4 separate regions of the Homo sapiens genome follow, and all the other regions are linked to region 3. The links are contacts of gene promoters, found by promoter capture Hi-C in human tissues and cell types (Jung and others, 2019). All regions are on one chromosome and are shown on one strand. The core of a region is centred on a gene start or on the middle of the fragment in contact, and the rest is flanking DNA. Distances in the headings are between cores, read along the strand shown. Region 1 has its middle 39 kb from the start of TBC1D19. Region 2 has its middle 41 kb from the start of CCKAR. Region 3 holds the start of CCKAR (cholecystokinin A receptor). Region 4 has its middle 35 kb from the start of CCKAR.

The links. The method cuts DNA at HindIII sites, captures the fragments that hold promoters and counts their contacts. A contact is called where the count stands out against the background at its distance.
Region 1: a contact is called between a fragment that was not itself captured here and the fragment with the promoter of CCKAR in region 3, in 3 of the 25 tissues and cell types used here (mesenchymal stem cells, neural progenitor cells and spleen).
Region 2: a contact is called between a fragment that was not itself captured here and the fragment with the promoter of CCKAR in region 3, in 1 of the 25 tissues and cell types used here (pancreas).
Region 4: a contact is called between a fragment that was not itself captured here and the fragment with the promoter of CCKAR in region 3, in 6 of the 25 tissues and cell types used here (IMR-90 fibroblasts, aorta, lymphoblastoid cells and 3 more).

What each region holds. Positions count from the first base shown.
Region 1 is chr4:26,543,815-26,546,514 of GRCh38, forward strand. No RefSeq gene overlaps it. Among named protein-coding and RNA genes, the nearest start is that of TBC1D19, 39 kb to the right of the region's middle. The HindIII fragment of the contact is 7,536 bases long and covers 1-2,700 here.
Region 2 is chr4:26,448,420-26,451,119 of GRCh38, forward strand. No RefSeq gene overlaps it. Among named protein-coding and RNA genes, the nearest start is that of CCKAR, 41 kb to the right of the region's middle. The HindIII fragment of the contact is 3,916 bases long and covers 1-2,700 here.
Region 3 is chr4:26,489,213-26,491,912 of GRCh38, forward strand. It overlaps CCKAR (cholecystokinin A receptor), which reads right to left and starts at 1,272. Exons shown (of 5, transcript NM_000730.3): 1 at 944-1,272; 2 at 21-272. The coding sequence starts at 1,055. The HindIII fragment of the contact is 14,703 bases long and covers 1-2,700 here.
Region 4 is chr4:26,524,579-26,527,278 of GRCh38, forward strand. No RefSeq gene overlaps it. Among named protein-coding and RNA genes, the nearest start is that of CCKAR, 35 kb to the left of the region's middle. The HindIII fragment of the contact is 4,585 bases long and covers 1-2,700 here.

The DNA of each region.
Region 1 (2,700 bases), core at 90-2,589, 55 kb after region 3:
ATTTCATTTAACTTTAAGTTCCAGGATACATGTGCAGAATGTGCAGATTTGTTACATGGGTAAATGTGTGCCCCAGTGGTTTGCTGCACCTATCAACCCATCATGCAGTTATTAAGCCCCACATGCATTAGCTATTTATCCTGATGCTGTCCCTCCCTCCACCACCCTGACAGGCCCCAGTGTATGTTGTTCCCCTCCCTGTGTCCATGTGTTCTCATTGTTCAGCTCCCACTTATAAGTGAGAATATGTGGTGTTTGGTTTTCTGTTCCTGCATTAGTTTGCTGAGGATAATGGCTTCCGGTTCCATCAACGTCCCTGCAAAGGACATGATTTCATTCCTTTTTATGATTGCATAGTATTCCATGGTGTGTATGTACCACGTTTTCTTTATCCAGTCTATCATTGATGGGCATTTGGGTTGATTTCATGTCTTTGCTATTGTGAGCAGTGCTGCAATGAACATACATGTATATGTACCTTTATACTAGAATGATTTATATTCTTTTGGATATATACCTAGTAATGGGATTGCTGGGTCAAATGCTATTTCTGCTTCTAGATCTTTGAGGAATCACCACACTGTCTTCCATAATGGCTGAACTAATTTACATTCCAACCAACAGTATAAAAGCATTTCTCTTCCTCTACAGCTGCACCAGCATCTGTTTCTTCTTGACTTTTTAATAATTGCCATTCTGACTGGCATGAGATAGTATATCATTGCATTTTTAATTTGCATTTCTCTAATGATCAGTGATGTTGAGCTTTTTTCCACATGTTTTTTGGCCACATAAATGTCTTCTTTTGAGAAGTGTCTGTTCATGGTTTTTGCCCACTTTTTAATGAGGTAGTTTTTTTTTTTTTTTTCAAATTTGTTTAATCTACAATCCTTGTAGATTCTGGATATTAGACCTTTGTCGAACGGATAGATTGCAAAAATTTTCTCCCATTCTGTAGGATGTCTGTTCACTCTGAGGATAGTTTCTTTTGCTGAGCAGAAAACTCTTTAGTTTAATTAGATCCCATTTGTCAATTTTTGCTTTTGTTGAATTGCTTTTGATATTTTTGTCATAAATTTTTTACCTGTGCCTGTGTCCTCAATGGTATTGCCCAAATTTTCTTCTAGGGTTTTTATAGTTTTGGGATTTACATTTAAGTCTTTAATCCATCTTGAGTTAATTTTTGTATAAGGTGTGAGGAAGGGGTCCAGTTTCGATTTTCTGCATATGCATATCCCAGCACTATTTATTAAATAAGGAATCCTTTCCCCATTACTTGTTTTTGTCAGGTTTGTAGAAGATCAGATGGCTGTAGATGTGCTACCTTATTTCTGCAATCTCTATTCTGTTCCATGTTGGTCTATGTGTCTGTTTTTGTACTGGTACCATACTGTTTTGGTTACTGTAGCCTTGGAGTATAGTTTGAAATCTGGTGGTGTGATGCCTCCCGTTTTGTTCTTTTTGCTTAGGATTGTCTTGGATATATGGGCTCTTTATTTGTTCCATATGAATTTTAAAGTAGTTTTTTATCTAATTCTGTGAAGAATGCTAATGGCAGTTTAATGGGAATAGCATTGAATCTATAAATTACTTTGGGCAGTATGGCCGTTTTCACAATATTGATTCTTCCTATCCATGAGCATGGAATGTTTTTCCATTTGTTTGTGTCCTCTCTAATTTCCTTGAGTAGTGTTTTGTAGTTCTCCTTGAAGAGGTCCTTCACTTCCCTTGTTAGCTGTATTCCTAGGTATTGTATTCTCTTTGTAGCAATTCTGAATGGGAGTTAATTCATGATTTGGCTTTCTGATTGTCTATTATTGTATAGGAATGCTTGTGATTTTTGCACATTGGTTTTATGTCCTGAGACTGCTGAAGTTGCTTATCATCTTATGATGCTTTGGGGCTGAGATGATGGGGTTTTCTAGATATAGGATCACGTTGTCTGCAAACAGAGACAGTTTGACTTCCTCTCTTCCTATTTGAATATGCTTTATTTCTTTTTCTTGCCTGACTGCCCTGGCCAGAATTTCCAATACTATGTTGAATAGAAGTGGTGAGACAGGGCATCCTTGACTTGTGCCAGTTTTCCAGGGGAATGCTTCTAGATTTTGCCTATTGAGTATGTTATTGTCTGTGGGTTTGTCATAAATGACTCTTATTATTTTGAGGTACGTTCCATCAATATCGAGTTTATTGAGACTTTTTAACATGAAGGGGTATTGAATTTTATCAAAGGCCTTTTCTGTGTCTATTGAGATAATAATGTGGTTTTTGTCTTTAGTTCTGTTTAGGTAATTAATTTGCATATGTTGAACCAGCCTTGCATCCCAGGGATGAAGCCAACTTGATCGTGGTGGATAAACTTTCTGATGTGCTGCTGGATTTGGATTGCCAGTGTTTTATCGAGGATTTTTGCATTGATGTTCATCAGGGACATTGACCTGAAGTTTTCTTTTTTTGCTGTTTCTCTGCCAGGTTTTGGTATCAGGATGATGCTGACCTCATAAAATGAGTTAGGGAGAAGTCCCACCTTTTCAATTGTTTGGAACAGTTTTAAAATAAATGATACCAGCTCCTTTTTGTACCTCTGGTAGAATTCAGCTGCAAATCCATCTGGTCTTGTGCTTTTTTTGGTTGGTAGGCTATTTATTACTGCATCAATTTTGGAACTTGTTATTGGTTTATTCAGTGATTCAATAT
Region 2 (2,700 bases), core at 144-2,643, 41 kb before region 3:
TGACTTCAATTTTTACTATAAGGCTAATTAGTATAAAAGTAGATACACAGACCAATGGAACAGAATAGAGAACCCAGAAGTAAGGCAAAATACTTCAACTGATCTTCAACAAAACATACAAAAACATAAACTAGGGAAAGGACACCCTATTCAATAAATGGTGCTGGGAAAACTGGATAGCTACATGTAGAAGAATGAAACTGGATCCCTGTCTGTCACCATATACAAAAATCAACTCAAGATGGATAAAAAAACTTAAATCTAAGACCCCAAACCATAAAAAGTCTAAAAGAAAACCTAGGACCCTAAAAGCAAATGCAACAAAGACAAAAATAAATAAATGGGACCTAATTAAACTAAAAAGCTTCTGCATAGCAAAATAAATAAATACTCAACAGGGTAAACAGACAACCCACAGAATGGGAGAAAATTGTCACAAACTATGCATCTGACAAAGGACTAATATCCAGAGTCTTCAAGGAACTCAAATGAACAAAAAAAAAGTCTCATCAAAAAGTGGGCAAATGACATGAGTAGACGTTTCTCAAAAGAAGATAATACAGATGGCCAACAAATGTGAAAATATTCAACATCAAAATCAGGGAAATGCACACTAAAACCACAGTGAGATACCAGCTTACCCCAGCCAGAATGGCCATTATTAAAAAATAAAAAATAAAAAAAAATAGATGTTGGTGTGCATGTGGTGAAAAGGGAACACTTATCCACTGCTGGTGGGAATGTAAATCAGTACAGCCTCTATGGAAAACAGTATGGAGGTTTCTTTAAAAACGAAAAGTAGATCTACCATTTGATCCAGGAATCCCACTACTGGGTATCTACCAAATCATTATATTCAAAAGACACCTGCACACATATGTTTAAAGAAGTCATTATATTCAAAAGACACCTGCACACATACGTTTATTGCATCACAATTCACAGTTGATAAGGAACCAATCTAAGTGCCCACCACCCAATGAATGGATAATGTGGTGTATATACACCATGGACTACTACTCAGCCATAAAAAAGAATAAAATAATGTATTTTGCAGCAACTTGGGTGGAGATGGAGGCCATTATTCTAAGTAAAATAACTCAGGAATGGAAAACTATGTTCTGACTTATAAGTGGGAGCTAAGCTATGGGTACGCAAAGGTAGACAGAGTGGAAAAATGGACATTGGAGACAGAAGCAGGGAGGCTAGGAAGAGGGTGAGGGCTAAAAAAACTACATATTGGGTACAATATATACTACTCAGCTGATGAGTACACTAATCTCAAACTTCACCATTACACACTTCATCCATGTAACCAAAAACTACTTGTACCCCAAAAGCTATTGAAATAAAAAATAATAATAATAAACCCAAACCAGAAGTCACAGATTTGGGATGAGATTTTTGCAAGAAAAATCATGGAGAATGTAAATTACTGGGCACATTGTCAAAGAAAAGGCCTTAGCCCTATATCAAAGATCATTAATATGTATATGTTTAAGTTAAAACTTATACTATTTCCTGTTTTATGAATATTCCACTTTAGCTGATTTTTTTTTTCCACTCACTGACTCAAGATACTGATTGAGATGTGGAGGACAAAAGACAGAGGGTTCCTCCTGGAGTAAATGTATCATTCTTGTCCCGTAAACTAGGTACTGAGTCAGGGGCTTTACATATATCATCTTATTTAATCTTCCAAACCGCTCAGAGAAGCAGGTGTTATTATTTCTATTTTACAGGTTAGAAAATGATGCCTTAAGTAATTTACCTTAGATTCCACAGTTCAAAAGCGACAGAACTGGGATAGAAACCAAAATTTGATTCCAAAAGCCTTTGTTGCTCTCCTTACACCTCACAGGTTTTCATTGTTACGGGGGAGCTACAGGTGAGGCTTGAGACTCACCTAGGGCCTCTGAGCTGGTCCACAGCCCGGCTGCTGATCAAACCCAGCCTCGCCCAGTTGAGCTGCTCTCCATTCCATGTTTGTTTTAGTTTTGCTCCTGCTTTTGCAAGGGAAGCCCAGTACTCAAGGAGACAGGGCACAGTTAAGAAAACCAAGTTCTTGGAACAGGCCCAGATCTGTACCAGGCTCTGGGCTTGAACATGACTGCAGAAATGTCAGGAGTTGCTCCCGGAATGGATAATTGAGTCCAGGGAGGTGACTCTTTCTCTGTGTGGATTAACACATGACTATCTCCATTGCCTCCCTGTGGCCCGTAGTGGTGATGGTTGTCAGGAGTGCTGTGTGTCAAGAAGGACCATTCTCAGCAAACTAACACAGGAACAGAAAACCAAACATCGCGTGTTCTCACTTGTAAGTGGGAGTTGAAAAATGAAAACACATGGACACAGGGAGGGGAACATCACACAATGGGGCCTGTCGGAGGGTCAGAGGCAAGGGGAGGGAGAACATTAGGACAAATACCTAATGCATGCAGGGCTTAAAACCTAGATGATGGGTTGATAGGTGGAGGAAACCACCATGGCACATGTATACCTATGTAACAAACCTGCACGCTCTGTACATGTATCCCAGAACTTAAAAACAAGGATTCAGAGGCTGCATCTGCGGTTAACTAAAGGGCATTATGAGCAGTGATGCCTGGTGTGTGAGATGGAGACTATGCACAGACACCAGTTATTTTCCTTCCTTGGCCTTAGGTGACGGTTCTCAAACATGACCCTGCAACAGAATCA
Region 3 (2,700 bases), core at 22-2,521:
AGTCACCAGCAGCAACTTACCCATGAAGTAGGTGGTGGTCTTGCAAACGGCGCTCCCGAAGATGAAATCCTTGAGCAGATTGGGGATGAGGTTGAACGGCATGCAGAAGAGACAGAGCATGAGGTCGCTGACAGCCAGGGAGAGGAGGAAGATGTTGGTGACCGTCCGCATCCGCTTGTTCCGAATCAGCACGGTGATGACCAGCGTGTTTCCCAGCACGCTGAGCAGGAATATCAAGGAGTACAAGAGAATCTGCACCGCTGGCTGCCACTCTGCAGAGAGAAACAGGAGCAAGACGGAGGGATGGAGGTGATGACAGCAGAATGCTAAAACCGAAGCCAAGGGTGAATTCCTGCCGATTTTCCCCCCACCGGGGTGTACATCACTGGACCCACGATTCCTGTCCTGGCAACATTTTGCGGAAACAAATTGAGGAAAGCAGAGACTGAATTATTTTCTTTTTAGAAGGTTGGTTTGTTAAAGGATCACTCAGGGAACCACTTTTTCTTAAGAACAAAGCTCCTCAAGTGAACAGTGATCACTTTCTTTCCTGGCTGCTAAGCATTATTTCACTTTAATCACTTCATGCTGGGTTTCCCCCCAAGAAAAGAAAACAGCTGCATGGTGACAACACCTTTTCTGCTGTGCTTGTAAGTTCAGGCTTTGACACTTGTAGTCCCTCTTGCTTCACTCAGCTTTTCCTCCCCTGCTTTTGTTCCCCCAAGTCCTATTCATGAATGCCCAACTCCCCCATGGGGGACAATAAGAATATTTGACTCTATTCTGCTTTTTAATCTCTTCTCCAAACTTCTGAACATATGACTTTATCTAGCCTTGTCTCACAATGACTTGGTTATATATATTTTTTATCAGCCTTGCCTTTGCTGATTTCTCCCACAACTCAATAGTTTCCTGAATTAAAATAACAGCTTCCGACACTTACCTTTGGAAGGACGGGGCTGATCCAAGCAGAAAAGCGTCTCATTTTCGAGCCCGAGTTCACAGGGAGGAGTGATGTTGCTTCCATTCACAAGAAGGCTGTCAACCACATCCATCCTTGCCTGCTGCTTTCCACCAAGTGCTGGAGAGCTGGTGAATTGCTCACTCCCGGCTCATTCCTCTAATGACCGAAGCGTCTCGCAGATGCAACCTGCCGTGGAGGAGCAGGGAGGGAGTGATTTCCAGGTGTGGGCTTTTTCAGCCATTCCTAAAGGCGACTTGAGTTCACCTCACTCACTCCAGCATTTGTACTCCTGTTGTGGAAAAGGCAGTGAGCACAAGCCAAGCCCGCTCCACCTTCACCCCGCCCCACCTCCCCCGGCCCTTTCCTGGGCCAGTCTTAGGGCCCTGAGTACAGACAGCCTGGCTACCCGTTAACCATTCTCAGCGTGTGGCTGCTTTTTACACACATGTGTACATATGCACGGACACACACACACACACAGAGGCTTCCCCAGTACTCCTCTATATAGGAACCCGTCACCATCCCAGACATATGCAGAAGAAAGCCCAAACCGGCTGTGTGAGACAGGAACAATTAACACGGTAACAGATCCGATAATGCAGACCATCAGGCCTAAAGAACACGGAGGGACTGTGTTCTACCTCCTTATAGAAAAGCAATTAGTGCCTTTTTAGCTTTGGAACCATGCCCGGTGGTGTGTGTGTGGACAGAACTGCTGGCTGGTTGTTAAGTTGCTACTAAACACAGTGTTGTTTCTCGTGGTCTCTGCCCTTGTTAACTAGGATTGAGGCACTTTTGAACATAGGTACCTGGGTCCTTATTACAAAAGACGTTAGTGAGATTTCCTCTTCATTCATGAAGCCTTGCATTCAGCACATCTTCATTGAGAGTCAATCATTTGCCAGGCACTTTTCTAGCATGTCAGCAAATAATGAGCAGAATTATTTCAGGTAGTAAGTACTACAAAGGGAGTAAAGCAGGGAGATGTGATGTATACAAACAGATTAGGGGCTGATTTTTTGGGGGGCGGGGACAGGGTCTTGCTCTGTTCCCCAGGCTGCAGTGGAGTGGCGCGATCATGGCTCACTGCAGCCTTGCTCCCTGGCTCAAGCAATCCTCCTACCTTAGCCTCCTGAGTAGCTGGGACTACAGGCACACACCACTAAGCCCAGCTGATTTTTTTAGTTTTAGAAGAGAGGAGGTCTCGCTATGTTGCCCAGGCTGGTCTCAAGCTCCTGAGCTCAAGCAATCCTCCTGCCTTGGCCTCCCAGTGTTGGCATTACAGGCGTGAGCCACTGCACCTGGCCTGGGGCTGCTGATTTAGAAGGGGTAGTCAGGAGAGGTCTCTTAAGGAGGGGACTGTGATCTGAGACTGAACCACAAGAAGGACAAAGTCTTGTGAAGATCCCAAGACAGCTTCTCCCAGGCAAAAGGAGGAGCACTTTTAGCAGAGGTAACAGCAAGTGCAAAGGCCCTGAGGTGGGAATGAGTGTGGCCCCATTGAGGTACAAATAGATAGAAGTAGGAGTGAGTGAGAGGCAAACAGCAGGACGTGAGATCAGAGAGGGGGGCCATCTCAGGGTCCTGGGTGTTCCATGAAGCTCTGTGGTGCTGGAAAGCCCTTCAACCTCCATTGCACAGATTATGTCCTCAGTTCAGACCCTTTGGAAAGCAGACGACAATGGCTGTGAAACCTGCGTTTCTGACGCCCTGCTTGGCTGTGCTGAGACTTGGTC
Region 4 (2,700 bases), core at 64-2,563, 35 kb after region 3:
GCGAAGAGATGAGAAATAGGCCATGGATGGGGAGCAGATAAAGAAGCGCTGTCTGAAAAACATGATCTTCATTGTTTTGGGGTTTGTGATTTAAAATTTATCCAAAGAGGGCACTTGTATGCAGATATGAAAATTAAGGTCTATTTTTAATCTGAACTTTCCATTCTTTGCCTTCCCATCACTGTAAACCTTTCAATGTTCATGTTTCAACCCACAAAACAGTAAAAGTCAGAAAATCTCATTATTGCATTTATATGCTAAGTACTTTGATGGGTAACAGAAAAATAATTTTGTTATTTATAACCCTTTTCTTTTCTTTAGAGATGGGATCTTGCTTTTGCCTAGGCTGGTCTCAAACTCCTGGGTTCAAGCAATCCTCCTGCCTCAGCCTTCTGGGTAGCTAGGATTACAGGCATGAGCCCCTTTTTCAAGATGATGGGTGTGGTGGATTGAAGATCGTACAAATACTTTGCCCCTCTTCCTCTTAAATTTAAGCTGGTCTTTGCTTTGACCAATACAAAGTGGTGGAAACTTTTTACTGTAGAACTTTCAAACCTGGGCCTTAAGAGAGTAGCAAGTTCTGTTTTCAAGTGCTTGGAATGCTCCTTCATGGAACCCAGTTGCCATGCTATGAAAAGCCCAATCAATTGGAGAGACCACATGGAGAACTAAGTTGCTCCAGTTCAGCTTTCAGCAGAGAACCAACTCCAACTGCCAGCCATGCGAGTCAGCCATCTCAGACATTCCAGCTTCCCAATGACTGTAACACCAGCTTACCCCATGTGCAACCAAGGAACCACCAGGCTGAGCCCCAGCCCACCCAAAGGACTGTGAGAAAGACAATAAAGGCTTCTTGTTATGTGGAGCCCCTACATTTTGTGTGTGTGTGTGTGTTTTTTTAATGCAGCAATAGTAACCAAGATAATGGGCCCTGATAAAATAACTAGAGAACCCTTTGTTTGCTAAGTAGTGTGTCAAATATGCATATATGAGTGTAGAATTCAGAGCAGGCTTAGCGCCAAAGCAATATGGTTTGATGGAGTTGCTTGGGGTGAAAGATCTTGGAGGGAGAAGGAGGAGTCTGAAAGCTGAAAGTGTGTAGAGTTGGGGGAAAGTTAAGGGAGAGAAAGAAAAAGAAATAGATTTTAAGTTTAAACTGCCCACGCACTCCATCCCCTTCTGTAGCAGGTTAGCAGAGAAGGGGAGTTAGGGAAAGAAACACTAAGTCGTTGCTGTGGTGGGGGATAGGTAAAGTTCCTCCTCATCTCTTCTACACAATCCTCAGTATAGTCTATATTACTTACAAATGCTTCTGTGCAAGTGTATTCTTCGGGGAAAACTAAAAGGTGATGACTAAGAAGTGACTAAAACATGGGTGAGTGGAGGGCAAGTGGACACAATGGCTGCACATGGTTACCTGGGGGCCAAAGGACAAGAAGGCAAAGCACAGGGCACAGCCATCGATGTCGTGTTTCATCCTGCCAGCAACCCTCCAAGACAGGCATTGCTATGCTCATTTGGCAGATGAACAAACTGAGGCTTAGACATGTGAAGTGCTGTTTCCAAAGTAAGGCAGCTTAGAGGTGGCAGCACTGAGATTCACACCCAGGTCCCTCTAATGCCTGTGCTTGAATTCTTTCCACCTTGCCTTGTTCCCTGTGCCTCTTCTCATCCTTTACTTTTCAGGTAATCAATCTTCAAGACTTAAACAAGAGTTTCATATACCTTATATACCTGGGTTTCTCAAACTCTTCATTCTCTATAAATGCAATGCCCAGATAATATTTAGATGCGGCCAGATGCAGCGGCTCACGCCTGTAATCTCAGCACTTTGGGAGGCCGAGGCCGGTGGATCACCTGAAGTCAGGAATTCGAGATCAGTCTGACCAACATGGAGAAACCCCGTCTCTACTAAAAATGCAAAAAATTACCCAGGCGTGGTGGTGCATGCCTGTAATCCCAGCTAATCGGGAGGCTGAGGCAGGAGAATCACTTGAACCCAGGAGGCAGAGGTTGCAGTGAGCCGAGATCACACCATTGCACTACAGCCTGGGCAACAAGAGCGAAATTCCTTCTTAAAAAAAAAAAATAATATATATATATACACATATATATATACATATATATATATACACATATATATATACATATATATATATACACATATATATACATATATATATACATATATATATACATATATATATATATATACACATATATATACATATATATATACATATATATATACATATATATATATATATACACACACATATATATATACGTATATATATATATACACACACATATATATACGTATATATATATATATATATACACACACACATATATATATATATATTTAGATGCTGTTTGAGAGCCTGCTTACCTAATGTTTATGTACCTGGACTCTGAAGCCAGACTACCTCGGTGCAAAGCTCTGCCCCACCACGTGCTAGCTTTGTGAGACTGGGCAATTTCCTTGTGCCTTAAACCTTCCATGCCTCTGTTTACTTCATCTGTTAAATGGGAATAAGGCTTTTGATCTCTTTTGTTTGTTAATAGGTTTCAATGAGTCAATGCCTACAGTTCTTAGGGCAGTACCCAGCACACAGTAAATGCTACACAAGTATTCACTCTTGTGATTATGTTCCCTGCATCGTTTCATTCCCTGACTGAAGACGGGAAACTATTTTT